2 separate regions of the Homo sapiens genome follow, and region 2 is linked to region 1. The links are contacts of gene promoters, found by promoter capture Hi-C in blood cells and fetal thymus (Javierre and others, 2016). All regions are on one chromosome and are shown on one strand. The core of a region is centred on a gene start or on the middle of the fragment in contact, and the rest is flanking DNA. Distances in the headings are between cores, read along the strand shown. Region 1 holds the start of ABCC5-AS1 (ABCC5 antisense RNA 1). Region 2 overlaps EIF2B5 (eukaryotic translation initiation factor 2B subunit epsilon).

The links. The method cuts DNA at HindIII sites, captures the fragments that hold promoters and counts their contacts. A CHiCAGO score of 5 or more calls a contact.
Region 2: a contact is called between a fragment that was not itself captured here and the fragment with the promoter of ABCC5-AS1 in region 1, in 1 of 17 cell types (erythroblasts). The highest score is 5.2, in erythroblasts.

The regions. Positions count from the first base shown.
Region 1 is chr3:184,003,181-184,008,803 of GRCh38, reverse strand. ABCC5-AS1 (ABCC5 antisense RNA 1) reads right to left here and starts at 2,466. Exons shown (of 3, transcript NR_046570.1): 1 at 2,343-2,466. The region is part of intron 2 of ABCC5 (ATP binding cassette subfamily C member 5); the gene reads left to right. LOC124909468 (a long non-coding RNA gene) reads left to right here. Exons shown (of 2, transcript XR_007096191.1): 2 at 1-329. RefSeq lists a silencer at 1,738-1,787. The HindIII fragment of the contact is 257 bases long and covers 2,276-2,532 here.
Region 2 is chr3:184,145,005-184,149,984 of GRCh38, reverse strand. EIF2B5 (eukaryotic translation initiation factor 2B subunit epsilon) reads right to left here. Exons shown (of 16, transcript NM_003907.3): 16 at 4,674-4,980. It also overlaps the pseudogene RPS3P3. Among named protein-coding and RNA genes, the nearest start is that of DVL3, 7.9 kb to the left of the region's middle. RefSeq lists a silencer at 4,594-4,643. The HindIII fragment of the contact is 3,578 bases long and covers 1,249-4,826 here.

The DNA.
Region 1 (5,623 bases), core at 1,217-3,716:
TAAGTTCTGACTTTGAGCAGGCCAGTGCTTTTCTTCTTCAAGGTGTAAGTGAAGATGCAGATTACATGGTTTGCCCATTTCTCAGTATTGTGACCAAATCATTCTTTTGGAATATGACTTGGAAAAATTGCTCTATTAGTCACATCTTCAAATATTTATAATTTCTCACGTATGCTTAGAAATAATTAGGGTTGAAATAAAGCATTCGCACATCTACCCACTTTCTTCGGGACTGTAATGTTAATGCTTGTGGCCACACACAATTTGAGGCTTAGCAGGCATCCTTTAATCCTGAAGTGTTAATAAAGTGGTGGTTTCTGTTGCTGTTAGTTCTTTGAGCCTGAGTACTAACTTTGGCTGGCATTAGGCTGGCGTTACTTCAGCTAACATGAAGTTTTATACCTAGGCTGCTCCTAAACACTGTTCCTTTGCCTGAGGCATGATTATTCAGGCATGGTTCCTTTTTTTAATCCTATTTATATATGCACATGTAGATCATATGACTCCACGAGCCCTGATTTTTTTTTAAGATGCAGTCAGTGTTTATTCATTTTTTTAAATTTAGCAAATATTTGAACACTCTTCAAGATGCATGCACAGCACTGAACCGAGTGGTCTGGTGCAGATAAAGATAAATTGGTGCTGGGCCTGCTTGTCCACCAATAGAAGCTTAAACTCACAACACGTACTCTACATAGATGACTGTAATTTAGATGCTGTGGGAATTAGTAAAAGGAGAAAGTGCTTCTCTCTCAGGGAACTCTTTAGGAGGAGGTATCATTTGGCTGGAAACTTGAGGAATGGATAGAATTTGGAGAAATGAAGAACTTGCCAGGCAAAAGAAAGAGTTGTGGGATAGGGATACCTAGTCCTTGTTGGTATTGAGCATCAAATGTGTGAAGTCTTAGCTATAGTGCAATACCTCAGTGAATTTCACATTATGTGTGGGGTTTTTTTGTTTTTTGTTTTTTGTTTTTGAGGTAGAGTCTCACTCTGTAGCCCAGGCTAGAGGGCAGTGGTGCGATCTTGGCTCACTGCAACCTCCGCCTCCCAAGTTCAAGCGATTCTCCTCTCTCAGTCTCCCAAGTAGCTGGGATTACAGGCACATGCAACCACACCCAGCTAATTGTTTGTATTTTTAGTAGAGATGGGGTTTCACCATGTTAGCCAGGCTGGTCTTGAACTCCTGACCTCAGGTGATCCCTCCGCCTCAGCCTCTCAAAGTGCTGGGATTACAGGTGTGAGCCACTGCGCCTGGGCATGTGTGTTCTTGAATAATAAGCCAAGGAGTTTGGATTTTAATTGCTTTAAATTAATATTTAAGCAAAAGCAAGACAAAGCTTGTCAGATGCTTTTATGAGCTTTATTTTATTGTGGTGGTGGTTTGTTTTCTTAGTGCTCTCAGGCAAAGGTAAGGGTGCCTTGTTTTTCATTAGCATGTCTAATCTGGGAAAGAAGGAAGAATGGAAAAATAAGCAGAAGTGGGCCGGGCGTGGTGGCTCACGCCTGTAATCTCAGCACTTTGGGAGGCCGAGGCGGGCAGATCACAAGGTCAGGAGATTGAGACCATCCTGGCTAACATGGTGAAACCCTGCCTCTACTAAAAATACAAAAAATTAGCTGGGCATGGTGGCATGCACCTGTAGTCCCAGCTACTCGGGAGACTGAGGCAGGAGAATCGCTTGAACCCGGGAGCCAGAGTTTGCAGTGAGCCGAGATCGCACCACTGCACTCCAGCCTGGGGAACAGCAAGACTCTGTCTCAAAAAAAAAAAAAAAAAAAAAAAAGCAGAAGTAAACTAAAGTTCATGTACCATTATTACTGGCACATGAACTTTAGTTATTTTTTCCCCTTCTCTCAAAAGTGTGTCATTGGTGGGATTTTCTTCCTACCAAATTAGAATATCCTGTGTCTAGGAAAGGTAACAAAGCAAGTATTCATAAAATCCAGGGCTCTTACTTAGTATTTCCTTAGTTCTGTGGTAGGCTGACCCTTTAATCTTGGTTGGAGTTTTCATAATTAATGCTTTGAAATATTTTGGTGAGCTCAAGTTGTATCTTAGGGATCAAAGATGTGGGTCTAATCTCTTACCAGAAATGATTCGAAGATGTATTGTTAGGAAAGAAATATGGGCTCATTATAGAAAATGTACAAAGTGTGTAAAGTTGTAGAAAAAAAGTAACCACCCTTAATTCCTCTACCCAGAGACAGCCATTGTTTTCATAAAATAGTTTTGTCTAGTACATTGTACTTTTAGAGTTTGCTCCTGAAAGCTTTTCTTTACAGACTAAGGACGTGTGAATTTGTCTATGCCCTTGTGTTTTCCAAGTCAAGAGTATTACCTGTGAGTCGGCTTGCTGTTAGGAAGGAGAGCAGGAGGAAGGAGATTAGCATTTTGCAGCTCTGCATTATTTTTCTCTTGATTGATACTCGGTGACTCAGCAGATTTTCTGGACAGGGTTAAGATAAGTAAGAATACCTGCCTTTTTTTTTTTTTTTTTTTCTTCTCTCCCTGTAGGCATCCATAAAGCTTTATGAGGCACAGTAGTCTCTTAGGCGCTGCTGGGTGTGACACCGTATCTGGTCTGGTGCCAGGTGTTGGTCTCCAATAGCAGCCCAGAGATCTCCGGCTGAGGTAACAACAGTGTGCGATTGGTGTGGAGCCCAGGTGGCTCTCATGCTTGGTAACTGCATTGACAGCTCGCTGGGGCTCTTGAGGTTGGGCTGCTGCCGGGATCATCAGCTCTCTTATGCCGTTTGCTGCAAGACTGCCGCGGCTTTCCTAGGAAGTGCTGCTTAAGGGAAATAAATATAGCCTGTTGGCATGAGTTAAAGGAACTTTCTGTCAAAGGGGAAGAAAAGTGTTGGAATTAGCTTCCTGTTTTTTTTTTTTTTAAGTACCTAAATCTTTATTTGGTTAAGATAACTTGGAAGTTACAAATGGTTAATGAAAACTTTTTCAATGAAATATTGTTTCCACAGTTAGGTGGGTTTCCGTTAATGCTTTCTTTTTTTTAGTTATTATTATACTTTAAGTTCTAGGGTACATGTACACAACGTGCAGGTTTGTTACATATGTATACGTGTGCCATGGTGGTGGGCTGCACCCATTAACTCGTCATTTACATTAGGTATATCTCCTAATGCTATCCCTCCCCCCTCCCTGTTCATGCTTTTTTTAATGTCTTACCGTTTTTCCCTCTCTTTTAGTCAAAAATAAAAAGGTCAACGCAAAGAAACAGGGACTCCAGAAGGCTTTGCAATGGTTAAACCTGTCATTATTAAACTCACAGACTAATGTGAAGTTAATTTGGTGCACTGAAGTCCACTAATGAGCAGAATTAAATTTATCCTTTTCCTCCCTGCCCCCCTTTTAAGGAGTTAGCCTATTTAGATAATTAGATGTTATATATGTTTTAACTATTTAAGATTATTTTATGAATTAGCTGTTCAAAGAATCAATTGTTACTAGATATCAGATGAGAACTTCCACTTACCAAAGCCTGCTCATGGAGGTAGAAAGCAAGACTGACATGTGTACTTTAAAAGATGGATGGAACCTCAAAGGCCGTCTTGCCCAGTCCCCATTTAGCCTCACCTCTCTGTAGGTGAGGCCCAGGAGAGACACTTACTAGGCAGACTATGCTGGGGCTGGGTGAGCTTCCCAAGGATGTTCTTTCTGGAATTCGGTGGCTCAGAATACAGCACTTGGCTCCTCTTTGAAGCATGATGGCTCTGTTGCCTGTCTCTGGCCCAGTGTGCTGGGCTGCTGAAAAGAGCATGGAACCACCCAGGAGACGCCACGACACTGACAGCTGTACCTGACCTGAGGGTTCAGGATATGTTTTCAAAAGCAAATCTCGCTAAAAAGGATTTGTATGTTATTATGAAATCTATATTTATGTGGTGGAAATAGACACACTCAGGCTTTTAGAGATAAACTACACAGAATGGGTTACAATAAATGCTTATAATTGTTTGGCTTTTTTAAGAATCCTGTTAACTTGACAACCTTCTGTTTACTTTTCTTTGGTATTATGCAGGTATGATATTGAGCAGTCACTTAGTTTTCTTAAATGTTGTGTCTCACAGTAGAAAAATAGCCAAACCACTCAGCCCCTGACCTTTGTGTTTGCTTCTCACGGTGATCAGCAGTTCTGGTCTGCTCTGCAGTATGGTGGTCACATGATGGAACCCAGAAAGCCTTGTACTAAGCATTTAACACACATTGTGTTAGGCACTGGAGGAAGTTTCATTTACAAATTATATTTTGGCCTTTTTTTTTTTTTTTTTTTTTGAGACGGAGTCTCTGTCACCCAGGCTGGAGTGCAGTGGCATGGTCTTGGCTCACTGCAACCTCTGCCTTCTAGGTTCAAGCAATTCTCCTGCCCTCAGTCTCCCAAGTACCTGGGATTACAGGTGTGCACCACCATGCCTGGCTAATTTTTGCATTTTTAGTAGAGACAGGATTTCACCATGTTGGCCAGGCTGGTCTCGAGTCCTGACCTCAAGTGATCCACCTGCCTGGGCCTCCCAAAGTGCTGGGATTATAGGTGTGAGCCACTGTACCTGGCCTTTTTTTTTTTTTTTAGCTAAAGCCTGAAAATCTTGTTGAAGGGATTTTGTCAAATGCAAAAGACCAATATTCACAACTCTCTAAATCAGTGGTTTTCAGGCCAGGCTGAATGTTAAAATCACTTGAAGAATGTTCAACAAATACCAGTGTTGGGGTCCTATTCCAGACCAATTAAATCAGTCTCTGGGATAGAACCCAGACATTGGTATTGTTTTAAAACTCCTCTGGTGATTCTAGTAGGTAGGCAGTGCTGGGAATCTCTAGATCTCATGGAATAAAGTCTGTTCTCTCCCCTCACTCAATGGCTCCAAGTGTTTCCTGTAAATCCCGTTTTACCCCTGTGATTCATTTTCAGTTTAATCCTTTGAAACCTTACCATGCTATTAACAAAGTTAATCTTAGACCCAACATAACAGGAACTTTGAATAAGTTCCTTGGAATTTAGCTTATGAAACAACTGAAAGCCCTCAAATTCCTGGTGATTATGGAGTAATGCTAGATTATCAACTGCAGACAAATACCTGTTTTACTGTGGTGGTGGAGATATGTTTGTGAATTGTATTGCTAGCTGATCATCGGCTTGAGAGTAACATAGCACAGCTACAGATAAGTGAGCTGATGCTCAAGTTAATTCTTTTCTCAGTGTAGTATAGCTGTTGAGTGATAGGACTGAGTTTAGCAGCTTCCCTGACTTGGAATAATAGCTCTTTCTTTTGTATTCTGCTTCTTCCCCATATAGGTTGGGTTCTAGAATTTTGCTGATCCTCTTGACTGAAATGGCTACTATTTGGAAGTTCTTAAGGGAAGAGCTTAAGATGGTCAGGGTTGTGATAACAACCCACTGGGGAGTAAGGATGTGGTGGGAATTGCAGAGGAAACGTGCTTGGTAGGTTTCTTTAACTTGTTGGAGATTAGGAAGGGCGGGAAGGCCTGAAGTCAGCCGGTCTTGGGAGGACATCAGTTTTTGATCTTTTTAAATTTAAAAGTGAATTTTAATTCACTTTTAAATTTAATTTCTAATATTCTGAGTCCCTTAAGAAGTATATC
Region 2 (4,980 bases), core at 1,788-4,287, 140 kb before region 1:
CTAGTGGCAACCTTTTCAGCATAAAGCTCTACACTGCCCTCTGGAAAGCCAAACCTCTTCTGAACTATAGCAGTCAGTTCCCGAATCCGTCAGCCCTTCTCACCAGGAATATTCTGTGTTCTGGTGGCTAAGATAATGATTTCTGTCCTGGTTGGTGTAACTTGCATCTCAACTCCAGAGTAGCCATCTTCAGCCAGCTCCTGAGTAAGAAACTCATTCAGTTCAGCTTTGAAGATGTCATCAGTGACAAACATCCTCTTCTTGGAAATTTGCACAGCCATCTTGCCGCCACGCTCCACTGAAAGGAAAGGCCTAATTTTGTATTTTTAATAGACACAGGGTTTCACCACATTGGCCAGTCTGGTATCAAACTCCTGGGCTTAAGTTATCCTCTGCCAACCTTGGCCTCCCAAAGTGCTGGGATTACAGGTGTGAGTCACATCACACCCAGCCTTTTTTTTTTTTTTTTGGAGGCAAGGTCTTGCTCTGTCTTCCTGGCTGGAGTGCAGTGGTGTGATCATAGCTCACTGCAGCCTCGAACTGGGCACAAGTGATCCTCCCACCTCAGTCTCCCGAGTAGCTGGGACTACAGGCACACACCACCACCCTTGGCTGATAATTTAAAATTTTTTGTCGAGATGGGATCTTGCTATGTTGCCCAGCTGGTCCCAAATTCCTGGCATCAAGCAATCCATCTGCCTTGGCCTCCCAAAGGGCTGGGATTACAGGCATGAGCCACCACGTCCAGCCGATTTTTCCTATTCTGTTTCCGCAGCCCAGTAGATGATTTTGGGCCTTATGGATTGATCCTTTACTACTTTTTTTTTTTTTTTGGATAGATAATATATTCATGATTCAAGATTCAAGAAGTATGTAAGAATGGAAATACAGTGAAACGTTACCCTGCTATTTGGTCCTCGAATCCTCCAATTCTCAAGAGAAGGAATTAGTTTACTTATTTTTAATTTCTAAGAACTCTTTCTTCTCCAATTCTTCCTTTTTAAAGTACTTCATAGACACAATATCTTTTCTTTGAGTTTTGAGAATAGTTATTGTAGCTTTTTCCCCATGAAGTTTTCAGAAAGCTCCCTACTTTGTTATTGTTTCCTTGGTTTCAATTTTCTATTTGTTTGTTTTGGTCTTTCATATTGGAAGGTTACTCAGATGTTTAATGGTCCTTTGCTGTCTATTCATATTTAACAGTGAGATACCAAAAAGTGGATTGGAAGCTCAGTCTATTTACAAGCTTTATTATTAATGAATAGGCTTCACTGTAGGGTGATCATGTGGGGGGAAAGCTGACATTTTGTTGTTGAAGAAACCAAAAATGTCAGTGTCAGTATGCATAGGCATTTTTTTCCCTGCAGTTGTTTCTTTTCATACTGGAGGTTCTGTCAGTGTGTGCTGATGTTGAGTCTCACCGCTCATATATTTTCACTTAATTCTTCATTTTCAATCTAATACCTCACCTCTATCCCCACTATGCCTGCTGCTGAATGCAGAGGCTCTGATAGTTTAAGTTCCCCTGGACATTCTGAAATTTCATGGGCTTTTTCATTCATTATGCTGGGCACTCATGGACAGTTGGTCTGGAAACTTGTGACCTTTGGGCTTAGGAAACCTTAAGTCTATCTTTGCTAACTTCCTCCCTACCATTTCTCCAGAGACGGAATCTCCCATTTTATGCAAGGGAGTAGGGGTAATCACTTGGCTGGATCAGATGAGGTTGGGACTTGGTGGGGCTTTTTCTTATACAGATCATCGTGTAATCTCCTTCCACCCCACCCCTAGTTCTCAGCGTCAGTCCATACCCTCCTCTGAGGTGCTGAACCTTTTATGGGTTCAGAAGGGCACATTGGCTTACTTCTTGCCATTAACTCCCTCAGCAGGTAGAACCCAACTCATTCTACTCTGTTAAGTGACTGTTGACTGTTCTGTTTTTCATCTTCCAAAATGTTGGCATCTCTCATTCATTGTCACCTCCTATTTTCCTTATCACTGGGTCATGTGGCTTTATTATTATATTTTTTGAGAGTTTCGCTCTTGTCACCCAGGTTGGAGTGCAATGGCATGATCTCGGCTCACTGCAACCTCCGCCTCCTGGGTTCAAGCAATTCTCCTTCCTCAGCCTCCTGAGTAGCTGGGATTACAGGTGCCCCCCACCATGCCCGGCTAAACTTTTGTGTTTTTTGGTTTTTTTTTTGAGATGAAGTCTCGCTCTTGTCCCCCAGGCTGGAGTGCAATGGCGCGATCTCGGCTCACTGCAACCTCCACCTCCCAGATTCAAGCGATTCTCCTTCCTCAGCCTCCTGAGTAGCTGGGATTACAGGCACCTGCCACCAGGCCCAGCTAATTTTTCTATTTTTAGTAGAGATGGGGGTTTCATCATGTTGGCCAGGCTGGTCTCGAACTCCTGACCTCAGGGGATCCACCCACCTTGACCTCCCAAAGTGCTGGGATTACAGGCATAAGCTACCACGCCTGGCTTTTTTGTATTTTTAATAGAGACGGGGGTCCACTATGTTGGCCAGGGTGGTCTTGAACTCCTGACCTCAGGTGATTCACCTGCCTCGGCCTCCCAAAGTGCTGGGATTACAGGTGTGAGCCACTGAGCCCAGCCAGCACGTGCCTTTTTAAAATAATTCCTTTACTGGTATTTCAATAGAATTTTTGGAGGGGGCATAAAGGCTCATGTGTTTAATTTTCCGTATTTAACTGGAAAGTTTTTGTTTTGCTTTTAATGCATGCTTCCAGCCTCTTCTATTTTTTAGGCCACTCCAGCATCAAATTTCTGTAAAGCCTTCCCTAATCACCCTAACTGGAAGTAATCTCTCTTTCTGAAAAAGCTCTGTAGACTACTTCTGATTTCTGCTATACATTCAGTACAGATACAGGGATGTCTCACTGTACTAGGTCCATGCCATAATGCCAGAATCTTCATACTAGACACTAGATCCTATACCTAACAAGACAGAAACTGAGATTTACTAGAAAATTAAGCCAAACCCTGGCCAGCCTGTCTTTTCCTTTTCCAGTGATGCCTTCATACCCACAAGCTGACTTCAGTCAGCCCATCCTCAGTTTATATCCTTTTTTTTGAGACAGAGTTTCACTTGTCGCCCAGGCTGGAATGCAATAGTGTGATCTCAGCTCACTGCAACCTCCGTCTCTTGGGTTCAAGCGATTCTCCTGCCTCAGCCTCCCGAGCGGCTGAGATTACAGGCACCCACCACCACGCCTGGCTAATTTTTGTATTTTTAGTAGAGACAGGGTTTCACCATGTTGGCCAGGCTTGTCTCAGACTCCTGACCTCAGCTGATCTGCCCACCTCAGCCTCCCAAAGTGCTGGGATTACAGGCGTAAGCCACCGCGCCTAGGCCAGTTTATGTCTTTCTATCCAACTAAAATGAATAAAGGCAACCATTTGTTCTGTAACATCTGGGACGGTAGGGATGGGGGGGTAGAGCATCACTTGTTACAACAGTCACATTAGCCACCGTTTAAGTACCACTAAAGGAAATTATTATTATTATATTGTTTTGAGGCAGGGTCTCGCTCCATCACCAAGGCTGGAGTGCAGTGGCACAATCTCGGCTCACTGCAACCTCCGCCTCCCAGGTTCAAGCAATTCTCCCTGCTTCAGCCTCCTGAGTAGCTGGGATTTCAGGCGCCTGCCACAATGCCCAGCTAATTTTTGTATTTTTGTAGAGATGGGGTTTCGCTATGTTGGTCTCGAACTCTTCGCCTCAGGTGATCCGCCTGCCTCAGCCTCCCAAGGTGCTGGGATTACAGGCGTGAGCCACTGCACGCGGCCAGAATTGTTGACTCACTCTATATGAAGACAAGGAACTCAAAAAGAAAAGACAGAAAGGCATGTCTCTTTTGGTTAAGGTTAAAGCAATACAGCAAAGTAACAAGCTCCAGGTCAAGAGTCCAATATCACACCTGGCTCTGTCAGTTACTAGCTAGGGAAGCTCTGTGAGCTTCAGGCACCTTATCTGAAAATGGGGATAAGACTTCATGGGGCTCATGTGAGGATTAAATGAAACAATATGTGAAAACTGCTTGCCTGTCACATAGTAAACACTCTCAAGGGAAAGCACCCTTCACATGGCCTTCCTGTGTTCTTGGGACCTCCATTACTGGCTCTGGGTTATATTTGTCTGTGGGGCCAATTTTCCCTTCACTGAAACACAATACGCTGAAGGACAGAGTTCTGGATTCTGAGGGTCAAGTCCTTAGCTTTACCCCTCAAGAGTCATGTGACCTTGAGCTGATTTCCTTATTTCTGATGAAGCGTGGCCCAGCTTCCTGACAGAACGAGTACCAGATCAACTGGAAAAGGCATGTGAAAGGAACTGGCATGTCTAATGGGCTTTACATATGGTTGGCAACATAATCCTCTGGCAGAAAAGTGTTCAAAATGGGACTCTATGGAAACGGGCTTAGGCACACCACCCCAGGATCACAAGTTGGTCCACAGAGGCTGGAAAAGAACCTCCGCCCTCCACTACCCATGAGCCATGGGAAAGGTTAATTAGCAAGGTACCACAGTACCACCTAGTGGCTGGCACACCCGTCCTCCCTCTCCCCCAGGTGTTAAGGAAAGGCTATCATGTGATTCTGGTCACATACTTCACTGGCTGATTAGTCAGGGATGGAGACAAACCAAATACACCACTCTCTCTTTTAATATTAACATATACAAGCAGCAGAAAGAGCCAACTGCTCTCTGCTGTTCCCTGAGGGAAAGCCGGAGCACAAAGCTGTTCCTCTGGCCTTCCTCCAACTGCCGGGCCTGCTTAGCTCCTCCCTAGGCAGAAGCTTTGTTCCAGCCCCACTTCCACATCCCAACTCCACAGTCAGGATGGGAGGCACATGGTTGCTAGCAGGGGAAAGAATACTGTAGTTCCAGCCTCTGCTCCTTTCAGTCTCAGCCTGGATGGTGGTCACTCATCCCTCTGCAGCTAGTTCCTCACT